Regions from separate parts of the Homo sapiens genome. Here all the other regions are linked to region 3. Evidence: promoter capture Hi-C in human tissues and cell types (Jung and others, 2019). All regions are on one chromosome and are shown on one strand. Each heading gives the region's core, a stretch centred on a gene start or on the middle of the fragment in contact. The rest is flanking DNA. Distances are from core to core; before and after follow the strand shown. Region 1 has its middle 51 kb from the start of IRX1. Region 2 has its middle 14 kb from the start of LINC01019. Region 3 holds the start of IRX1 (iroquois homeobox 1).

Region 1 (2,700 bases), core at 166-2,665, 51 kb after region 3:
TTCTCAAAAGCAGTCACAACAAAAACAAAAATTGACACGTGGTACCTAATTAAACTAAAGAGCTTCTGCACAGCAAAAGAAACTATCAACAGAGTGAACAGACAGCCTACAGGATGGTAGAAGCTATTTGCAAACAATGCATTCCACAAAGGTCTAATGTCCAGAATCTACAAGAAACTCAAACAACTCACAAACAAAAAACAAATAATTCCGTTGAAAACTTGGCAAAAGACATAAACAAACACTTCTCCAAAGAAAACATACAAGCAGCCAACAAACATGAGAAAATGCTCAACATCTTCAGAGAGATGCAAATTTAAACCGCAATGACATACCACCTCTCACAAGTCAGAACGACTATTACGAAAAAGTAAAAAAGTAACAGATGCTGGCTGGGTATGGTGGTTTATGCCTGTAATCCCAGCACTTTGGGAGACTGAGGCAGGAGAATCGCTTGAGCCCAAGAGTTCAAGACCATCTTAGACAACATAACAAGACCTCATCTCTACAAAAAATATTTAAAAATAAGGTGGGCATGGTGGCACATGCCTGTAGTCTCAGCTACTTGGGAAGCTGAAGTGGGAGGATCACTTGAGCCCGGGAAGTTGAGGCTATGGTGAGCCATGACCATGCCACTGTACTCTAGCCTGCATGACAGACCAAGACCCTGTCTCAAAAAAAAAAAAATAAATAAATAAAAATAAAAAATAACAGAAGCTGGTGAGGCTGCAGAGAAAAGGTTATGCTTATACATTGTTGGTGGGGATGTAAATTAGTTCAACTACTGTGGAAAGCAGTTTGGACATTTCTCAAAGAATTAAAAGCAAAACTACCTTTAGATCCTGCAATCCCATATCTGGGTATTTGTATTTACCCAGAGGAAAATAAATAATTCTACCAAACAGACACATGTGTGCGTATGTTTATCACAGCACTATTCACAATAGCAAAGACATGAAATCAACTTAAATATCCATCAACACTGGACTGGATAAAGAAAATATGATACATATACACAATGGAATACTACTCAGACAAACAAAAGGAAGGAAATCATGTCCTTTCCAGCAACATAGATGAAGTTGGAGGCCATTATACTAAGCAAATGAACACAGGAACAGAAAACCAAATACTGCATGTTCTCACTTATAAGTGGGAGCTAAACTTGGGATACACATGGACATAACAATGGGAACAATAGACACTGGGCTCTACAAAGAAGGGAGGGAGGGAGAGAGAGAGGGGGCAAGGTATGAAAAATGACCTATTGAGTACTGTGCTCAGTACTTGGGTGACAGTTTCAATTGTACCCCAAATCTCAGCATCACGCAGTATACTCTGGTAACAAACCTGCACAGGTACCCACTGAAAATAAAATAAAAATTGAAATCATAAAAAAGAAAGTTTTAGCTATTCTAGAGGGCACCTTGAAAAGAAGACTCCCATCAAGCCAACTGAGCATTTGGAATATTCTCTGCCTTCCCCACCAAGAACCTTGGATTTCTTTCTTTCTTTCTTTCTTTTCCTTTTTTTTTTTTGAGATGGAGTCTCACTCCATTACCCAGGCTGGAGTGCAATGGCATGGTCTCGGCTCACTGCAACCTCTGCCTCCAGGTTTCAAGTGATTCTGCAGCCTCACTTTCCCAAGTAGCTGGGACTGCAGGTGTGTGCCACCACGCCCGCCTAATTTTTGTATTTTTAGTAGAGACAGGGTTTCACTATATTGACCAGGCTGGTCTCAAACTCCTGACCTCGTGATCCACTCGCCTCAGCCTCCCAAAGTGTTGGGATTACAGGTATGAGCCACCGTGCCCGGCCTGAGCCTTGGATTTCTAAGGACTGTCGTGCATAGATCCTAGATTTTTCCAGATTTTCCAGACCAGTTCTGGTCCACAGAACCTCTCTCTCAACAAACCCCACAGCCATGTTTTGTCCACAGAAATGGGCCTGGCAAGACCCCTAATTTTGAGCTTTGTTTTTGCCATTTCCCCCAGTGCCATGTCTGCACTGCCTCTGTTGCTGGAGGCATTCCTGAACAGAAATTTGACTTGACACATGTTTTTCAGTTGTTTGAAAGGTCATCAACTCACTCACCCACTGGGACAATCAATCCATCACCCATCAATCAAATAATTCAACAGATGCTTATTAAATGTTTGGTGGTGTCATGCCCACATACGGTGTCTGTCCTCAGGAAGCTCCAGGAACCCAGGAAGGAATCTTAGTGCTTCTCAGCAGGTCACGTGGAAGCCCTGGCAGTTTTCAGAGATGTGCAGCTGGTGGGGGATTGCAGAGCCCCTGCTGGGGTCTCTTCGCACTTGCTCCAGGAATGAGGGGCTCTGATGAGCTTCATGACCTGGTTATGTGTTCATTAGTAACATAAAGACATAATCCTCAAAGACAGTCTTTCCTTTTTATAGTCTTTCCTTTTAATGGCCAAACATAGATGAGAATGGTCATTTTCTAGTGTTTTCCAAATTACTTTGTTATGTCATGATCTAGCTTTTTGAAATCTTTCCATTGTCTTAGCTGTGGCATTACATACTTCAAAACTCTGCTTATAATTTTGTTTTCATATGTAGGAAGAATTCTGAGTAGGGCATCAGGGAACCCAGCTCCCCATCTCAGCTTGGCTGTGGACATGGGGGTAGCGCTGGTTGGATCACTCTGTGCTCTATTTTTCACTGTTGAAGGATGGGG
Region 2 (2,700 bases), core at 41-2,540, 46 kb before region 3:
AATTAGCCAGTCATAGTGACATGTACCTGTAATCCCAGCTACTCAGGAGGCTGAGGCAGGAGAATCGTTTGAACCCGGCAGGCGGAGGTTGCAGCGAGCCGAGATCACACCATTGCACTCCAGCCTGGGCAACAAATGTCGTCTCAGGAAAAAAAAAAAAAAAAGGTTGGACAATCAGAAATGATAAGGGGGATATTAACACTGACCCCAAAGAAATACAATCATCAGAGAATACTATAAACACCTCTATGCACATCAACTAGAAAATCTAGAAGAAATGAATAAATTTCTGGACACATACACCCACCGAAGACTGAACCAGGAAAGAACTGAATTCCTGAGTAGACCAATAACGAGTTCTGAAATTGAATCAGTAATAAATAGACTACCAACAACAACAAAAAAAAACCCAGGACCAGATAGATTTACAGCTGCATTCTACCAGAGGTACAAAGAAGAGCTGGTACCATTTCTATTGAAACTATTCCAAAAAATTGAAAAGGAATAATTCCTCCCAAACTCATTCTACAAGGCTAGCATCATCCTGATACCAAAACCTGACAGAGATACAACAACAACAAAAAACTTCAGCACAATATCTTTGATGAACATTGACACAAAAATCCTCAACAAAATACTGGCAAACCGAATACAGCAGCAGGTCAAAAAGCTTATTTGCCACCATCAAGTAGGCTTCACCCCCAGGATGCAAGGCTGGTTCATATATACAAATTAATAAATGAGATTCATCATATAAATAGAACCAAAGACAAAATAATTATCAAAAGACCATGATTATCTCAGTAGATGCAGAAAAGGCCTTTGATAAAATTAAATATCACTTCATGTTAAGCTCTCCCCCAAAAAACTAGGTATTGAAGAAACATACCTCAGAAGATTAAGAGCCATATATGATAAACCCACAGCCGATATCATATTGAATGAGCAAAAACTGGAAGCACTCCCCTTGAAAATCACCACAAGACAAGGTTGTCCTTTTTCACCATTCCTCTTTAACATAGTATTGGAAGTTCTGGCCTGGGCAATCAGGCAAGAGAAAAAAATAAAGTGTATTCAAATAGGAAGAAAAGAAGTCAAGCTACCTTTGCTTGCAGATGACTTGATTTTATATCTAGAAATCCCAATTGTCTCAGCCCAAAAGCTTCTTATGCTAATGAGCAACTTTATCAAACTCTCCAGATTCAAAATAAATGTGCAAAAGTCACTAGCATTCCTGTACACCAAGAGCAGGCGAGCCAAGAACCAAATCACTAATGTACTCCCACTCACAATTGCCACAAAAAGAACTTAAAAACCTAGGAATGGCTGGGCACGGTGGCTCATGCCTATAATCCCAGTACTTTGGGAGGCCAAGGCTGGTGGATCACCTGAGGTCAGGAACCCGAGACCAGCCTGGCCAACATGGTGAAACCCCATCTCTACTAAAAATATACAAAATTAGCTGGGCTTAGTGGCACGCACCTGTAATCCCAGCTACTCGGGAGGCTGAGGCAACAGAATAGCTTGAACCTGGGTGGTGGAGGTTACAGTGAGCTGAGATCGCATCATTACACTTCAGCCTAGGCAAGAAGAGCAAAACTTCATTTCAAAAAAAAAAAAAAAGAAAAGAAAAAGAAAAAAAAATACAGCTAACAAGGGAAGTGAAGGACCTCTTCAAAGAACTACAAAACACTGCTCAAAGAAATCAGAGATGATACAAACAAATGGAAAAACATTCCATGCTCATGAATAGAAAGACTCAATATCATGAAAATGGCCATACTGTCCAAAGTAATTTATAGATTCAAAGCTATTCCTATTAAACTACTATTGAAATTCTTCACAGAATGAGGGAAAAAATGTTAAAGTTCAATAGAACCAACAAAAAGAGCCCACATAACCAAAGCAATCCTAAGGAAAAAGAGCAAAGCTGGAGGCATCATGCTACCTGACTTCAAACTATACTACAGGGCTACTGTAACCAAAACAGGATGGCACTTGTACCAAAACAGACACCTAGACCAATTAAACAGAATAGAGAACCCAGAAATAAAACTGCACACCTGCAACCATCTGATTTTCAACAAACCTGACATAAGCAAGCAATGAGAAAAGGATTCCATATTTATTTTTTATTTATTATTTATTGTTTTTGAGACAGAGCCTCTCCCTGTTGCCCAGGCTGGAGTACAGTGGTGCAATCTTGGCTCACTGCAACCTCCGCCCCCAGGTTCAAGTGATTCTCCTGCCTCAGCCTCCGAAGTAGCTGGGATTAAAGGTGCCCACCACCATGCCTGGCTAATTTTTTTATTTTTAGTAGAGATGGGGTTTCACCATGTTGGCCAGGCTGGTCTTGAACTCTTGACCAGAAGTGATCCATCCACCTCTGCCTCCCAAAGTGCTGGGATTTATTAAATACGGAATCCTGCCTGGCATGAGCCACCATGCCTAGCCAGATTCCCTATTTAATAAATGGCACTGGGAGAACTGGCTATCCATGTGTGTGAAATTGAAACAGGACCCCTTCCTTACACCACATACAAAAATCAACTCAAGATGGATTAAAAACTTAAATTTAAAACCCAAAACTAAGAATCCCAGAAGAAATCCTAGGTAAAACCATTCAGGATATAGGCACAGGCAAAGATTTCATGATGAAAATGTCAAAAGCAATTGCAACGAAATAAAAAAATGACAAAT
Region 3 (2,700 bases), core at 162-2,661:
CGGGTGGCTCAAACCACCAGCAGAACAGCATGCCGACTCTGGCCCGATGGCCGCCTTCATCCCGTAGCCCCAACCCGGCCTAAAGCCGAGAAGACGCCAGAGTGCGCTGCTGAAATTCCCGCGGAGTCCGGTGTGCTGGAGAGCCGCAGCGGGGTGAACTCCCGGCCCCGTCTCTGCGTAGGAGGTGGTTCGCAAAGTGGCCCCGGGAGCCGGGACTGGTACCCGGTTCCCCACGGCACCGTCCGGAGCTCTCCAGCCACGAGGCGCAGAAGTGGCCTGCCAGCGCCTTCCCAGGCTCAGGGAGGCGAGGAGGCCCGTGCACTTGGCATCTTCTCCCGGGAGCCGCACGGCCAGGGCCGCGGCGAAACGGAGCCCATCTCAAGTGCGCCGCGCCTGGCCGCGTCCTGTAGCCCGACGAGGCTGAGGATGGAGAGGGGAGACGCAGGGAGAAGAGGGACGCGGGACTTGGACCCAAGAGGCCGCTCCGTTGCCGGTCTGGCGGCGGCGCCGACTCGGGTTCGCGCGTTCCACACAAGTTTCCTGTCTGCCTCTGCACACCTGGTGGACAAACCGGGCGTCCAGGCCACACCGTCTTCCCCCTTCGCGGGGGCGCGGGGGATGTTTCCCTCCGGCTGCCAGGGGGCTTTCTGGGTGAAGAGAAAGCCCCTCCCCCCGCGTCTCCCCCACCCCTCCCTCCGAGAACCCGCGGCGCCGACTGCGCCTGCTTCCCCCGAGCTGGCGACTTCTCCGCGGGATTTGCCCTCGCTCAAAGTTTGCACAATTGAAAGAGCCCGCAGAGCTCGGCCGCTCCCCGCTTCCCCAAGGGCGGCGAGGCCGGTCATTGGCAGACGATCGGTTACTACCCAGTAGGGGCCCACGGGAACCCGCATCTGGAGTCGGGGGTGTCACGCCACGCCGGTTCAGTGGCTCGCGGAGAGCGTCCGGGTGCACTTCTGCCAAAGATGTCCCCTGGAGGCCCCGGCCGCGCGGGACTCGGGGGAGAGGCCGCTCCCCCCTCGCTGTCACCAGCGTCCAGGCCGCCGGCCCCTTCCCCGCTGCCCAAACAGTAGAAAAGCAGGCGCCAAGTTGTTTTTGTTAAAAAGGGGACACACCTCGGCCGCGAAACTGCAAACCCGGTGTCAGACAGCTGTAAACCCGTGTCGACAGGTTGTCAGACAGCTGCGGGGGCTGGTCGGGAAGGAGCCCACGGCCTCCGGGCCCACACCCCGCCGCCCCGACGCGCGCGCCCACCGCGAGAGTAGCTGGCCGGGCCGGCACGGGGCACCACGTGCTCGCGGGAGGGGCGGGAGCGGCCGGCGAGGGCGGGCGGGAGGCAGGGAGGGGGCGGGAGGGGAGCCAGGGGCGGGGCCTGCGCTCAAGGGGATGCCAATCAAAGCATCAACTTCAAATTGTGTCTGAAAGCCCCGCCGCCGAGCGGAGGGCGGCCGCCGCAGTCGGCGCGCGATTGCGGATCCGGGCGCAGCCGGGAGCCGGGCGCCTGCGAGCACCGGGCAGAGGAGCCGCGACCGGCCTCCATCTCCCGGCCCGCCCGAGCGCGCCCGGCCGGCCGCCCGCTCCTCCCTAGACCCCTCGCGGCGCCCCCTGCAACCCCCTCCGGCCGGCCTCCGCCTCCCTCCCCGCGCCTTTAATACTCGCCCGCTGCGGCGGTCGCCGAGTCCGCGGACATGTCCTTCCCGCAGCTGGGCTACCCGCAGTACCTGAGCGCCGCGGGGCCGGGCGCCTACGGCGGCGAGCGCCCGGGGGTGCTGGCCGCGGCCGCTGCGGCGGCTGCCGCCGCCTCGTCGGGCCGACCGGGGGCCGCGGAGCTGGGCGGCGGGGCAGGCGCGGCTGCAGTCACCTCGGTGCTGGGCATGTACGCGGCGGCGGGGCCGTACGCGGGCGCGCCCAACTACAGCGCCTTCCTGCCCTACGCCGCGGATCTCAGCCTCTTCTCGCAGATGGTGAGTGCGCCCGGCCTCCCCCGCTTCTCCTCTGTCTCACCCGCGCCAGGGCAAGGGTGGCGGGTCGCCCGGGAGGGAGAGACTACGGGTGGACCTGGTCCGGAAGAGGAACTAGAAAGGTCCGGGGGCAGGTTCCCGGTGGCCGAGGCCGCGGCCCCCGGGGACGCAAGAGGGCTGGGAGGCCGGGCGGGTGACGGCTGGGCCATCTCGGCCTGGGAAAGCGGAAGGCCCGGGCCAGGGAGCGGGTAGCGAGTGAATTCAGAGAGGCCGCAGAAGCAGGCCCGTGGAGCGGTGCCCGCGCTGGAGGTCGGGGGCAAACTCGCCTGGCTCGGCCAGGGCGCCCGGGCAGGCCCACGGGGTTCCTGCAGGTCGGCCCGGCGTAGCGTAGCAGGACTTCCCTTCCTGGCCGCGGGTTCCACTCGCGCGGCCTCTTTAGTTTTCGAACCGAGTCTGGAAAACTTGGTTTTCTCCCTCTTTAGCAGCTCCGAGATAGTTGTATCCGAGTTTGCCAGACAGACCCCTTCTAAGCCTGGTAGAGTCAATCAAAATAATCTTAACAATAGAGGTCCAAAGGGATGGAGAGGTCTCTCCACGGCGTGAGTGCGAATTTGAGATTAAACAAAAATTAAGTTGCAGTAATGTGCTGGTGTCTGAAACGGTGTTTGATTTTACTTTTGTAAGTTGCCCAAGTTTTCATTTCATTTGCACAGAAAGAAAAGCACTTTTCTTCCTGCGTTAC

What was found. Contacts are between HindIII fragments. The study calls those that stand out against the background at their distance.
Region 1: a fragment that was not itself captured here is called in contact with the fragment with the promoter of IRX1 in region 3 in 1 of the 25 tissues and cell types used here (small bowel).
Region 2: a contact is called between a fragment that was not itself captured here and the fragment with the promoter of IRX1 in region 3, in 1 of the 25 tissues and cell types used here (stomach).

Annotation. Positions count from the first base shown.
Region 1 is chr5:3,645,653-3,648,352 of GRCh38, forward strand. No RefSeq gene overlaps it. Among named protein-coding and RNA genes, the nearest start is that of IRX1, 51 kb to the left of the region's middle. The HindIII fragment of the contact is 3,301 bases long and covers 1-2,700 here.
Region 2 is chr5:3,548,818-3,551,517 of GRCh38, forward strand. No RefSeq gene overlaps it. Among named protein-coding and RNA genes, the nearest start is that of LINC01019, 14 kb to the left of the region's middle. The HindIII fragment of the contact is 6,314 bases long and covers 1-2,700 here.
Region 3 is chr5:3,594,421-3,597,120 of GRCh38, forward strand. It overlaps IRX1 (iroquois homeobox 1), which reads left to right and starts at 1,412. Exons shown (of 4, transcript NM_024337.4): 1 at 1,412-1,961. The coding sequence starts at 1,686. RefSeq lists a silencer at 1,115-1,409. The HindIII fragment of the contact is 23,247 bases long and covers 1-2,700 here.